Linked DNA regions of Homo sapiens: region 1 is linked to region 2. The links are contacts of gene promoters, found by promoter capture Hi-C in human tissues and cell types (Jung and others, 2019). All regions are on one chromosome and are shown on one strand. Each heading gives the region's core, a stretch centred on a gene start or on the middle of the fragment in contact. The rest is flanking DNA. Distances are from core to core; before and after follow the strand shown. Region 1 holds the start of SYNE4 (spectrin repeat containing nuclear envelope family member 4). Region 2 holds the start of PRODH2 (proline dehydrogenase 2).

Region 1 (6,574 bases), core at 2,773-5,272, 200 kb after region 2:
CTAAGAAGGAAGCCACCTTGGGGACTTAGAGCCCAAGAAAGGGAGGGACTGAGCCCTGATGTTATTTCTTTCTTTCTTTTTTTTTTTTTTTTTTTTTTTTTTGTTGAGATGGGGTCTCACTATGTTGCTCAGACTGGAGTGCAGTGGTGGGATCTCGGCTCACCGCAACCTCCGCCTCCCGGGCTCAAGCGATTCTCCTCCTGAGTAGCTGGGATTACAGGCATGCGCCACCACACCTGGCTAATTTTTGTAGTTTTAGTAGAGACGGGGTTTCACCATTTTGGCCAGGCTGGTCTCGTACTCCTGACCTCAGGTAATCCACCCACCTCAGCCTCCCAAAGTGCTGGGATTACAGGCGTGAGCCACTGCGCCTGGCCTGGCCCTGGTATTACTTCAGGCTCTGAATTCAACAGTGCCTGGACCTTTCCATTACTTTTTTTTTTTTTAATAGCATTCCCTTTCTTGTGCCTTTTGATTTCTTGGGTTTCTGTCACTTGCCATCAAGATTCCTGAGTGCTACACCTGGTTGAGAACTGGCTCACCTGAGGCTTCCGGAGCAGGGAGTGTCTTTGGTGACGTGCTAAGCGTTTCTGGTGGCCGAGGCCAGACTCCAGCATGTCCTGTCGGGAGTGAGAGGTGTCTGCTTCCTGGAGAACCAGCAACAAAGAAAAACGTGGTTGGGGGAGGGCCAGGATAGGGATGTCATAGAGATGAGATTCTGGGGGAGCAGAGAGATCTCACAGGACAGACAAAGGCAGAGCCAAAGAAACCAAGAGAGGAGAGAATTATTTATTCATTCATTCAATAAATGTGTAATGAGTTTCTGTTACAAGCCAGGAACTGTTCTAGGAGCTGAGGACACAGTGGGGATGGAAATAGGCAAATTCCTGGCCTCCGTGGAGCTTATATTTGACAGGAGAGAGACCATAAATTAATAAGTAAATGAGGCCTGGTACAGTGGCTTATGCCTGTAATCCCAGCACTTTGGGAGGCCAAGGCAGGCGGATCACCTGAGGTCAGGCGTTCGAGACTAGCCTGGCCAACATGATGAAACCCCATCTCTACTAAAAATACAAAAATTAGCCAGGAATGGTGGTGCACACCTGTAATCCCAGCTACTCGGGAGGCCGAGGTAGGAGAATCTCTTGAACCTGGGAGGCAGAGTTTGCAGTGAGCCAGGATTGCACCACTACACTCCAGCCTGGGTGACAGAGTGAGACTCCATCTCAAAAAATAAATAAAAATTTTTAAAAATAAGTAAATGTACAAAGTCAAGCTGTGGTGAGTGCTGTTAGGAAATAAAGTAAGAAGATAGGAGTGCTCATGTTTGGAGGTCACGACAGGCCTCCCTGAAGAGGTGGCACTTCAGGAGAGACTGGGACAGTCAGGAGGTGAGTGGGGCATCATCTGGGGGCCTCAGGATAGGAGTGAATTTGAGATGGGGCTTGAGGATGTAGACAGAGACAGACGAGAGAGAGAAACAGTGAGATAGAAGGAGACACCGAGAGACAGAGATAGAGGGGGAGACAGAGCCACTGACACCTCCTTGGAAGGGCAGGATCTTGCTAGAAGGTGCGCAGAGATGTCCCCAGGGTGCCTGGCAGAAGGTCCCTCAAGGGGGTCTGCTCTCACCTCAAGGCCTTGTCCCCTGCCCTGGGGCCCCCTCTGGCCACACAGCTCACAGGGCACTCCTAGTGTCCGGGCTGTCTTTTGTCCCAAGGGCCCAAGGCCCCCAATGTCCCCCGCCGGATCCCACTCCAACTCTGTGGAAGTGGGGAGGCTACTGGGTGCCCAGGGCCCCCAGACCCCACCAGGTCCTGGCCAGTCCGAGTCTCCCTCGACCTCCAAGTCCTGGTCCAGCGTGTTGGCCTCCTCGAACACCTGGGTCAAAGGACAGAGGTCATGGAGGCTATGAGGTTGGGGCCTGGGTTGGGTGGGGGGTATCAAGATGGGCCCTACCAGGCTGTAGCTGACCAGCTGGGCCTGCAGCTGCCAGAGCCGCCGGAAGATGGAGTCTCGGTAAGCTCCCAGGGCCCGCAGGATCTGCTCCAGGGCTGCCCAGGCCCTGGGCTCACTCCGCTGTGCCAGCCCCTCACCAAACGCTAGCAGCGCCTCCACACGCTCAGCTGCCCCTCGTAGGTCCACCTGGAGGGCCTGGGGACATATGGACATCACCCCACGCACACACCAGGGACCCAAAACCTGGAGTTACCCCCCTCCCCCATTTCCTATCCAAAGGCCTGGAACATGCACTCAACCCATTTCCCATCCCGGAAAGCTGGCACCCACTGCTGGGGCCGTGCCCACCCCCACATCCTGGCCTCTCCTGCCTACCTGCAGCTGCACCATCCCACTCTGGGCCAATGCCCAGTGCCCCAGGCCTTGCTCCAGGTCCTGCAGCCGGCGGCCCAGCCCCAGCAGGCACAGGTGCAGGCTGTTCTGCTCAGCCTCTAGTACCTCCAGGCCAGAAATGGGGTGCTGGGGAACACAGGAGCCAGGTCAGGGCCAGTGGGCCAATCAAGATATCACCCCTGCTCCCATCCCCACCCCTCTTCTGTAAGCTTCTGGAAACTTCTCTGTGGCACAGTCCATCTCCGGGTCTGTCTGCACCAGGATGGCTCCCACTGGGGGGGCCTTCCCAGTGGAGCCAGGCCTGAGGACAGATATCTAGTTCAAGGTCTCCAGGTTTTCAAAGCTCCTGGAAACTTGGATGTGTGAGGCCTGGGGGGTCTGGACAGGGAGCGGGGCTGGGTACCCCCCAAGAAGAATGGGGCTACACCAGGAGCAATGATGAAATGCTTCTCAGCCGGGCGCAGTGGTTCACATCTGTAATCCCAGCACTTTGGGAGGCCGAGGCCCGAGGATCACTTGAGCCCAGGAGTTCAAGACCAGCCTGGGCAACATGGTGAGACATCATCTCTACTTTTTTTTTTTTAATAAAAAAGAAATATGGCTGGACACGGTGACGCACGCCTGTAATCCCAGCACTTCGGGAGGCTGAGGTGGGTGGATCACCTGAGGTCGGGAGTTCGAGACTAGCCTGGCCAACAAGTCGAAAACCCATCTCTACTAAAAATACAAAAAATTAGCCAGGTATGGTGGCATGTGCCTGTAATCCCAGCTACTCGGGTGGCTGAGGCAGGAGAATCACTGGGACCTGGGAGGCGGAGGTTGCAGTGAGCAGAGATCTCACCACTGCATTCCAGCCTAGGTGACAGAGAGACTCCATCTCAAAAAAAAAAAGAAAGAAAGAAATACGTCTCCCCAGTTGGTCAGATATTGAAACACTTTTCCAGAAGGTCCCTCCCCCTACAGACACCCAACACCTTTCCAGAATCATCACCCGGTCCTCAGTATGGAGGCCAGACTCCAGGGGACAGAGAGGAGGTGGGGCTGGCACAAGGGGTCTGGGTCACCTCAGCTCACCTCACAGTGTTTGCCCCCAGCTGGGTCCTCGTAGGAAGAGGGTGTTGACCATCTCGGGGGGTGAGCGGCAGGCTCATTGCCCCTTGGCCCACCCTGGAAGTGCTCAGGAGGGCCCAAGGAGTCCTGTCCCAGGGTCTGGGCCTGCTCTGGGCTAGGAGGCAGGGGGCGGTGACTGGGTGAGTCTCGACACCTCACTTTTCAGCCTACCGTCACCCCAACCCTGGTGGCCTCTCCTATGTCCCCAGGCGATCACAGCCATGGCACCTCCTACCCTCACATGGCCCCTGCCACCACGCCTACCCTTTTGGGAACAAGCTTCCAAAGCCCCGGCCCCCACCTCGTGCTCTCCTCTCCGGACGCGGGGCAGACGGTGCATCCAACAATGTCCGCCTCTCTAGGTGCTCCCGGTGGGTGGTTGAGGGGCTCTGAGCCAAGTCTAGGGCCCAGAGGCAGGGACAGGGCCATGGCTGGGGGCCTGGGGACACAAAGTCAGGTGAGGGCAGCCAGTAAGACCTCTTCCCTAGACAAGGGTGTCCCAGAGCTCCTCCGCTGGAGTCACCCGGGCCTGAGGCTGCAGGAGAGGCCCAGGACAGGTCTGGCTCCGCCCCTTCCAAGAGGAACCTGGACCCGGCCATTTGATGCCCAGCTCAGGTGACAGAAGAGTCACTTAACTCCTTCCTCCCTAGCAGGCCAGTAGCTAAATCTCCCAGCATCACTCCACGCCATCCAAGAGGGTTCCAGATAGAACCCCTGCGCCACCTCCTCAAGAGCCCTGGATTCTGCCCCACTGGGAACCCAGAAATCGGACCTCCAGGGCCTACCCCATTCATTTAAGACCCTAGATGCCGCTCCCCTCAGGAAACCAAGCATCTGGCCCCTAAAAAATAAAAATATAAAACCAAGGAAAGATTTTTTTGTTTATTTGGTATGGGGTCTTCTGTAGCTCACACAAAATTATTGGGAAAATAAATAACCCAGGGGAGCCCCCTTTGCCCACGGTTCCTAGGTCGCGGAGTCACAGCAGCCCCAAAGGGGCAGGAACCTGGGAATCCGAGGGGTCCCGGCCCTGGCGGTCACTTGCCCAGCAGGAGGCCGGCGCGCAGCACGCGGGGCACGCGGCGGATGGTCAGCGAGACCCGGGTGCCGCGCACCAGGCAGGCTCCCGGCCGCGCCGACGGGCAGGCTGCCGCATTGGGCGGCGAGGAGGCGGCGTCCAGCGCGTCTACGCGGGCGGCGGCGATGCCGTGGAGAAGACGCGTGTAGGCGGGGCCGCGGAGCACCAGCAGGCTGCGCGGTTCCAGCAGTAGCGAGGTGGTGGGCCGGGGCGGAGGCCGAGGCTGCAGGGCGGGTTGAGGGTCAGCAGGGCTCAAGAAGTCGGGGGGTGGGGGTGGGCGAGAGGTCGGTAGCCTCCGGGGATCAGCTAGTCCCCAGGGGCAAAAGCTGAAGAGCAAGTGTGCTCACAATGATGGAGGCTTTGGTGGTTCAGGAGTGAAAATTGCTGGGGCCTGGGCTGGGGCTGCTGGAAAGGGAGGGCGAGGGCTCTGCCGTCCCTCGGGAGGGGGCAGGATCTAGGTGGCAGATGGGGGCGTCAAAGGGTCAGCGGCCGGTGGGAGCTGCAGCTGGGATCTCAAAGGGGCTGAGGCTGGGGCTGGGACCCAGGAATAGGCAGTCCCCAGGAAATACAGGCAGAGCTGGGCTGAGAGAGCATGGCTGAAGCCAGGACCAGGTGAGGAGAGAGTGAGGCAGAGGTTAGAGGCAGTGGGGGTTCCCAAGGACATCAGGACATTAGAGGACAACCGCACAGCTGAGGGAGTGTCAGAGCATCCAGGAGCATGCAGGGCTCGAGGGCAAGCCTCAAGGAGTGGGTCGGCGTGTTCAGGGGCGTTTCTGTGAACACTGGGGTGCTAGAAATGCATCACTCAGAGAAATTGTGTCAAGGGGTCAAGGAGAATCTGGGGGTGTCCTGCACCCCAAATCACATTCCTGGAGTAGCAGGACGTCTGGGGCACCCTGAGCAGGGGCAGATAGAGCATCTGGGAGGAGGTGAGGCCCCCCGAGTTAATGGCGGTGGGGTATCTAAGGATATCAGTGTCTGCTGGGGAGTCAGGGGTATCCATTCAGCAGGTTGGGGCATCGGGGAGCCTGTGAAAATCATGGCATGTGGGACAGACACCCTGTAAGCAGATGGGTTGGGTGTCTGGGAGGAAGTGGGTACACCCCATGAGGGGACAAGGGAAGGTATCTGGGAGAGTGCCAGGAGTACCCCGAAGGCATGTGGGACCAGGTCATCTTGGAGGATGTGCGAGGTTGAAGTGCCTACAAGCAGCTGGGGCAGTGTCTGGGGGCCCACCTGTTCTGTAGGGTCATCGTCCTCTGGCCGCCGCGGCTCGTAGAAGTCCAGCACGGTGTGGGAGCCCAGGCTGATGGTGCTGACAGTCGGGTAGTACAGTGGTCCGTCCTCGTGGGGCTAGGGAGTGGGCACCAGGGCTGGGCAGGGCAGGAGTCCACAACCCCCACCCTCTGGGTCAAAGGGGGGCTTCCCAAGCCAGGGACAGGGAGGTGAATGCCTGTTTGGGAGATGTGGCTGCCTAATGAGTGAGGGTGGGTACAGAGTCCCCTGCCCCAGCACAGCTCAGAAGTCTGAGTGGGGGGACACGGGCCGAGGGTGTGTGGTTACCATGATGCCCTCCCCAGGCAGATACTGGTTCACGAGGACATGGTTAGCTGGGAGGCCTCCAAAGAGGCTGAGGTTTGACACTTTGTCCACGTAGCGCTGGAGCCATGGGGGCAGCCGCTCAGGAACCATCCCTCGGGGATGAGGAAGCCCACCTGGGGAAGGCAATGGGGTCCTGAGGGCCCCCCTATAGCAATAGATCCCCCATTAGGGATTCCACAGTGGCTGGAAGCACCCTGATCCTCTCAGGGACCCCTGACCGTTTGGAGATAGCCACTGGGTCCTTCAGAGGTTTCCTCACTTCTCCAGACCACAGGTCCCTTTCAGATACTCCCAACTCATCAGGAAATCCCTAATCCCTCAGGACCTCCACTGACCCCTTCAGAATCCTCCTGGCTCTTGGGGCCCCTTGAGCTGTCAGGGACCCTCTGATGTCTTAAGTCTATTGGACCTGAGTCCCCTGCCCCAGCCTAC
Region 2 (7,650 bases), core at 2,973-5,472:
TGTACCAACTGTTATTATCCCCCCATTTTCTAGATGGGGAAACTGAGGCACAGAGCAGGGAAGTCACTTGTCAAAAGTCACACAGCTAACTCAGGGCAGACCTGAGGTTTAAACCTCAGCCTTTCCAGAGCCTGGGTCTTTCTCTCTTTTCTCCCTCCCTCCCTCCTTCCCTCCCTTCCTTCCTTCCTTCTTTTTTTTTTTTTTTTGAGATAGATCTCACTCTGTCTCCCAGGCAAGAGTGCAGTGGTGCAAGTTCAAGTGATTCCCCTGCCTCAGCCTCCTGATTAACTGGGGCTACAGGCACGTGCCACCACTTCTGGATAAGTTTTATATTTTTAGTAGAGATGGGGTTTCACCATGTTGCCCAGGCTGGTCTCAAACTCCTGACCTCAAGTGATCCAGCCCCACTTAGCCTCCCAAAGTGCTGGGATTACAGGTGTGAGCTACAGCACCTGGCCCTTTTTTCTTTCTTTCTTTATTTCTTTCTTCCTTCCTTCCTTCCTTCCTTTCCTTCCTTCCTTCCTTCCTCCCTCCCTCTCTTTCTTTCTTCGCTCTCAAACTTGCCAGCTCAAGCAATCCTCCCACCTTAGCCTCCCAAGTAGCCAGGATTACAGGTGCCTGCCACCACACCCAGCTAATTTAAAGGAATTTTTTGTAGAGATGAGGGTTTACTATATTACTCAGGTTGGTATTGACCTCCTGGGCTCAAGCGACCCTCCTGCCTTAGCCTCCACACCAGGTGTGCACCAGCACACAGGCTGATTTTTTAATTTTTTTGTAGAGATGAGATCTCACTATGTTGCCCAGGCAGGTCTCAAACTCCTGGGCTCAAGTGAGCCTCCAATTTCAGCCTCCCAAAATGCAGATTACAGGCATGAGGCACTGCACCCAGCCTGTTTTAATCCTTAAAACCACTGAGAAGTTGCTGTCACTCTCCCTACAGGAATAAACTAAAGCTCATGAAGAGGTGAACTCCTTACTCTCCAAAGCTGATTTTCTGAACCATGAAATCTTGTTTCTATGTGTTCTCTGACACACTTTAAAAATTACAAATAAGGCCAGGTACAGTGGCTCATGCCTGTAATCCCAGCACTTTGGGAGGCCGAGGCACGTGGATCACGAGGTCAGGAGTTAAAGACTAGCCTGGCCAACATAGTGAAACCCCATCTCTACTAAAAATACAAAACTTAGCTGGGTGTGGTGGTGTGCGCCTGTAGCCCCAGCTACTCAGGAGGCTGGGGCAGGAGAATCGTTTGAACCCGGGAGGCGGAGGTTGCAGTGAGCCGAGATCGCACCACTGCACTCCAGCCTGGGCAACAGAGCCAGATGCCGCTTCAAAAAAAAAAAAAAAAAAAAAAAAAAACGCTGGGCGTGGTGGCTCACGCCTGTAATCCCAGCACTTTGGGAGGCTGAGGCGGGCGTTTCACCTGGGGTCAGGAGTTCAAGACCAGCCTGGCCAACATGGTGAAGCCTCATCCCTACTAAAAATACAAAAATTAGCCAGGTGTAATGGCAGGCGCTTGTAATCCCAGCTACTCGGGAGGCTGAAGCAGGAGAACCCGGGAGGCGGAGGTCGCAGTGAGCAGAGATTGCGCCACTGCACTCCAGCCTGGGCAACAGAGCAAGACTCTGTCTTAAAATAATAATAATAATAATAATAATAATAATAAATAAATAGATAAACAAATAAAAATTACAAATAAAAAAAGGTTAGAAAAAGAAACATCAGCATGTCCACTATAGCATTGTTTGGGAGGGTGGAGACACAGAGGCCACCCAGGGGTTCACCCCAGGAGAGGTAAACCATGCAGCAGCTAGAATCAACTATTGGAAACAGTGGGGGCCGGGCATGGTGGCTCAGCCCATAATCCCAACAATTTGGGAGGGTGAGGCAAGAAGAATTTTTTTTTTTTTTTTTGAGACGGAGTCTTACTCTGTCACCAGGCTGGAGTGCAGTGGCACGATCTCGGTTTACTGCAACCTCCGCCTCCCGGTTCAAGCGATTCTCCTGCCTCAGCCTCCCAAGTAACTGGGACTACAGGTGTGTGCCACCACGTCCAGATAATTTTTGTATTTCTAGTAGAGACGGAGTTTTACCATGTTGGCCAGGCTGGTCTTGAACTCCTGACCTCCAGTAATCCATCCGCCTCAGCCTCCCAAAGTGCTGGGATTACAGGCGTGAGCCACTGCCCCCGGCCATGTTCTAAATCTTGATAGGGATTTGGATTGCTCAAGTGTGTGTATTGGTTAAGGTTCATCAAAGGGCACATTTACAATGTGTGTAGTTCATTGTTTTACCTTGAAAGAAAAAAAGTACTGCGAATAATTATTGGGCTCTAATTAATGAGCCCATTATTCATATCCTGAAGCATTTAGGGGGAAAACATGTCTGCAATTTACTTTGAAATGCACCAAAAAATAAGATGGATTGATGGATGGATAGAGGAATAGAGGGATAGATATGATTTAAAGTGAGTATAGTTAAAGGTGGCGGGGGCATGGATGTTCATGTACAATTCTTTTTACTTTTCTGTATATTTGAAAATTTTTATAATAGAATATTGGGGAAAATATGCCCCCCACGAATGGTATACACCTGGCAAAACAAAATCATAGAAACAAAAAGATATGCATTATACAAGACGGCAGGCTGGGTGTGGTGGCTCACACCTATAATCCCAGAACTTTGGGGGGCTGAGGCTGGGGGATTGCTTGAGGCCATGAGTTAGAGACCACCCTGTGCAATACAGTAAGACAAAGAGAAAGAGAGAGAGAGAGAGAGAGGAGGGAGGAGAGAGAAGGAAGGAAGGAAGGAATAAAGGAAGGAAGGAAGGAAGGGAGGGAGGGAGGGAGGGGAGAGAAGGAAAAAGAAAAGAAGGAAGGAAGGAGAGAGAGCAAAAGAGGAAGAGGAAGGAAGGAGAGAGAGAGAAAGAAAGAAAAAAAGATGGAGTAGGGTTGAAAGAGAATGTGGAGATAAAAAGGAATTAATGATTGAATGAACAAACTAAGACCCCATTGGCCTAATCAGAACTTACACCCAGCCAGCTCACACCCATGCAGCTGTGTTGACTGAGAACACACTGATGTACCTCCTTCTAATTGATAAACAGCTTCTATCCCAATCCCTCCTCTGAGAGCCTCCAGCCTCCAGGCTCCTCCCTGAGAACCCAGATGACCCTGATTCCATCCATTTCAACCATGCCTGGGAGCTACAGCTGCACTTCTGCTGGCTGTTCCAAGCCTGGAGGTGGCCGTAGCATTTTGAACATCTGGCGTGCGGTGTGGCCGCATCTAAGTCCAAGGCACTCTGTCCCCGACAGTCCCGCTTGAGATCCTTACCTGCCCAGAGTCCATAGCTTCAGCCAGCCTCTCGGGGCTCAGCTCCAAGGAGGCTCCTGGCCTTCTGACCCACGAGGCTAGCTCCTTCTGAAATGGGGTGGTAGGCGGGGTGGTGAGGGGAGCCCGATGGGCAGCCGCGCCCTCCCCGCACCCCCGTCTTTGCACTCCTTACACAGAGCCGAGTACTGGTCAGCGCCGTCACCTTCAGCTGCATGAGGCTGGCCTCAGCCAGGCTGGGGGGCTCCAGGAGGCCCCGTGACAGGTCCACACACCGCAGCATAGCACCGAGGTTCCCCTCATACCACGCCTCACTGCCCAGCCAGCAGGTGTCAGGGCCCGAACAGCAAAGCCCCTTCCTGCGTCCTCCCAGCCTCCCTGGGCCCTGGCTCCCTACTCACCCACTCTTGGCAGCAGAGTCCGGCTCCTCCTCAGTGGGCACTGCCAGCAGTGGTCGGAGGCTGAGGGTCCGCAGCTGCTGCACGCAGCCCTTCACCTCCTCTGCTGTCTCACCAGCCACAAACTGCCCATAGACGGATGCTCGGAGAAATGCGCCTGAGAGCCGGGAGCCCAGGAGTCGCCGAGACCAGGCCTGGAGCTGGGTGACAGGGAGCGAGGGCTCAGCGCCAGGCTATGAGGAGCCTCCAGGCTGGTCCTCAGGATCACTGCTCACCAACAGCCCGTGAGTGACGAGTGGGGGCCAGGCACACAGCCGGAGAACCAGCAAGGCCCGTGTCAGCTCTCCTGTGCCCTTAAGGTGGAAGGCCCCGCCATCAAAGCTCAGGGACTGCCAGCCCCTGGAGGGGGGACCAGCTTGGGAACAGAGCACGTAACAGGTCCGGAGCATCCTGGGTCCCTGGCTGCCTCCACACCAGGGAAGGTTCTCTGGAGGCAGCAAGTTCACCAACTGCCCCTTGCCCAGACCAGGGGCAGTGACTGATTAACTGGGCAAAGCCTCAGGATCACAGGCTCCTTGGGGGCAATTAATTATTAACAAATGGGGACAGAGTTCAGAGTAACGGAAACGGGAGGTGAACCCCAGTAACAGCCCCCAAGAATGCTCAGCACAACAGCCTGCACTTATTAGGTAACCACCATGTGCTGGGGAAAGCAGGGGCTCCGGAGCAAGGATCCCTGGGCTCAGGACACCGGGCTTTGTGATCCAGGACAGGCTACTTAATCACTTTTGTGGCAATTGCTTCCTCTTAAAATTGGAAACGCTGTAGTGTTATTGAATACATTTGAAAATACGGTTCTCACGTTTGTAATCCCAACACTTTGGGAGGCCAAGACCGAGGAGTTTGAGACTACCCTGGGCGACATAGTGAGACCCCATCTCTACAAAAAATACAAAAATTAACTGTGTGTGGTGGCACACACCTGTGGTCCTAGCTACTCAGGAGGCCGAGGAAGGTGGATCTCTTGAGCCTGGGAGGTCAAGGGTGCAGTGAGCTGTGATTGTGCCACTGCACTCCACCCTGGGTGACAAAGTGAGACTCTGTCGCCAAAAAAAGAAAAAAGAAAAGACAAATAACCTATATAACCCAGCTGTTCCATGCTAAGTACATATCCTAGAGACCTTAAACATGGACAGCAGGAAACATGTACAGGAAAGAATGTTCAGAGGAGCAGTGTCTGAACTACCCAAATGTCCATCAAAAGGAGAATGGATACATATATGGTGGTGTAGTTATGCAATGGAATACTATACAGTAATGAAAAAGAATGGATACTGATACACACAACTGTGTGGCTGAATCTCACAATGTCAAGTGAAAGAAGCCAGACACCAAACAGGGCAAGCTGTATTATTCTTTTTTTTTTTTTTTTTTTTTTTTTTTTGAGACACAGTTTCACTCTTGTTGCCCAGGCTAGAGTGCAATGGCACAATCTCAGCTCACTGCAACCTTCACCCCCCGGGTTCAAGCGATTCTCTTGCCTCAGCTTCCAGAGTAGCTGGGATTACAGGCATGTGCCACCACGCCCCACTAATTTTGTATTTTTAGTAGAGACAGGGTTTCTCCATGTTGGTCAGACTGGTCTTGAACTCCCGACCTCAGGTGATCTGCCCGCCTCAGCCTTCCAAAGTGCTGGGATTACAGGCATGAGCCACTGTGGCTGGTCTATACTTTTCAATAAATATAAAAGCAAGGAAAGTGAAACTGCAGTAAAATGTTGGGAATACATGCGTGGGTGGTCAAACTATGAGGACAAGAAAAGTAAGGACATGATTATCACAGAAGTCAGAGAGGTGGTTGATTGTGGGGGATGGGAGGAATTGTAATGGGGTAGAGGGATATGGGGACTTCTATATCCTATTTTCTTTTTTTAAAATGGAAACCATATGTCTTAATTTTTTTGTTTTGTTTTGTTAGACGTATCCTTGCTCTGTCACCCAGGCTGGAGTGCAGTGGTGCGATCTCGGCTCACTGCAACCCCCATCTCCCGGGTTCAAGTGATTCTTCTGCTTTAGCCCCCTGAGTAGCTGGGACTACAGGCACCCACCACCACACCTGGCTAATTTTTGTATTTTTGTAGATATGGGGTTTCACCATGTTGGCCAGGCTGGTCTTGAGCTCCTGACCTCAAGTGATCCACCCTACTTGTCCTCCCAACATGCTGGGATTACAGGCGTGAAGTCCTAGGTCTTTTTTTTTTTTTTTTTTTTTTTTTGAGACAGAGTCTTACTCTGTTGCCCAGGCTGGAGTGCAGTGGCACGATCTCGGCTCACTACAGCCTCTGCCCCCGGGTTCAAGCAATTATCCTGCCTCAGCCTCCCGAGTAGCTAGGATTACAGGCGTCTGCCACCGCGCCTGGCTAACTTTTGTGTTTTTAGTAGAGTCACGGTTTCACCATCTTGGCCAGGCTGGTCTTGAACTCCTGACCTCATGATCCACCTGCCTTGGCCTCCCAAAGTGCTGGGATTACAGGTGTGAGCCACTGTGCCTGGCAGTGGCTTCTAGGTCCTAGGAGTCCTAGGTCTTAACATGGATGATGATTCATAGTTGTTCACATTGTAAGGTTTTTTTTGTTTTGTTTTTGAGACAGAGTCTTGCTCTGTCTTCCAGGCTGGAGTGCAGTGGGGTGATCACTGCTCACTGCAGCCTCAAACTTCTGGGCTCAAGCAATCCCCCCACCCACCACCTCCACCTCCCAAGTAGCTGGGATTACAGGTGCATGTGATCACACCGAGGGTAATTTTTAATTGTTTTTTTGGTAGAGACAGAGTCTTACTATGCTGCCTAGGCTGGTCTTGAACCCCTGGACTCAAGCAGTCCTCTCACCTTGGGCCTCCCAAAGTGTTGGGATTTCAGGCATGAGCCACGGCACCTGGCCCTCACATTGTAAGTTTTTTTTTTTTGAGACGGAGTCTTGCTCTGTCCCCCAGGCTGGAGTGCAGTGGCGCAATCTTGGCTCACTGCAAGCTCCGCCTCCTGAGTTCATGCCATTCTCCTGCCTCAGCCTCCCGAGTAGCTGGGACTACAGGCACCCACCACCACGCCCGGCTAATTTTTTGTATTTTTAGTAGAGACGGGGTTTTACCATGTTAGCCAGGATGGTCTCAATCTCCTGACCTCGTGATCCACCCGCCTCGGCTTCCCAAACTGCTGGGATTACAGGCGTGAGCCACACTGCGCCCGGCCTTGAAATTTTTATTTATTTTCTTATTTATGTATGTATGTATGTATGTATGTGTGTATTTATTTATTTATTCATTTTTGAGACAGGGTCTCACTCTGTTGCCCAGGCTGGAGTGCAGTGGCACAATTTCGGCTCACTGCAGCCTCAACCTCCCAGGCTCAGGTGATCCTCCCACCTCTGCCTCCCAAGTAGCTGGGACTATAGGCACATGCCACTATGCCCAGCTAAATTTAAAAAAATTTTTTTTTCCTTTCTTTTTTGTGATGGGGGATCTCACTCTGTCACCCAGGCTGGAATGCTCCAGCATGATCATGGCTCACTACAGCCTCAAACTCCTAGGCTCAAACAATCCTCCTACCTTGGCCTCCCAAACGCTAAGCTTATAGGCATGAGCCTCTGTACTTGGCCTGCCTTTTTTTTCTTTTCTTTTTTTTTTTGGCTCCATCTTGCTCTGTTGCCTAGGCTGCAGATGTCTGCTCACTGCAACCTCCGCCTCCCAGGTTCAAGTGATTCTCCTGCCTCAGCCTCCCAAGTAGCTGGGATTACAGGTGTCTGCTACCATGCCCGGCTAATTTTTGTACTTTTAGGAGAGGCGGGGTTTCACCATATTAACCAGGCTGGTCTTGAACTCCTGGCCTCAGATGATCCGCCTACCTTGGCCTCCCAACGTGC

The links. The method cuts DNA at HindIII sites, captures the fragments that hold promoters and counts their contacts. A contact is called where the count stands out against the background at its distance.
Region 1: the fragment with the promoter of SYNE4 here is called in contact with the fragment with the promoter of PRODH2 in region 2 in 2 of the 25 tissues and cell types used here (bladder and thymus).

The regions. Positions count from the first base shown.
Region 1 is chr19:36,004,791-36,011,364 of GRCh38, forward strand. SYNE4 (spectrin repeat containing nuclear envelope family member 4) reads right to left here and starts at 4,023. Exons shown (of 8, transcript NM_001039876.3): 1 at 3,764-4,023; 2 at 3,427-3,577; 3 at 2,335-2,478; 4 at 1,960-2,154; 5 at 1,633-1,881; 6 at 543-647. The coding sequence starts at 3,891. ALKBH6 (alkB homolog 6) reads right to left here. Exons shown (of 7, transcript NM_032878.5): 5 at 6,104-6,255; 6 at 5,777-5,893; 7 at 4,330-4,763. The coding sequence ends at 4,500. RefSeq lists enhancers at 3,195-3,736, 3,737-4,276. The HindIII fragment of the contact is 19,934 bases long and covers 3,152-6,574 here.
Region 2 is chr19:35,808,623-35,816,272 of GRCh38, forward strand. PRODH2 (proline dehydrogenase 2) reads right to left here and starts at 4,223. Exons shown (of 10, transcript NM_021232.2): 1 at 4,010-4,223; 2 at 3,738-3,934; 3 at 3,512-3,650; 4 at 3,340-3,426. The coding sequence starts at 4,183. The HindIII fragment of the contact is 15,660 bases long and covers 1-7,650 here.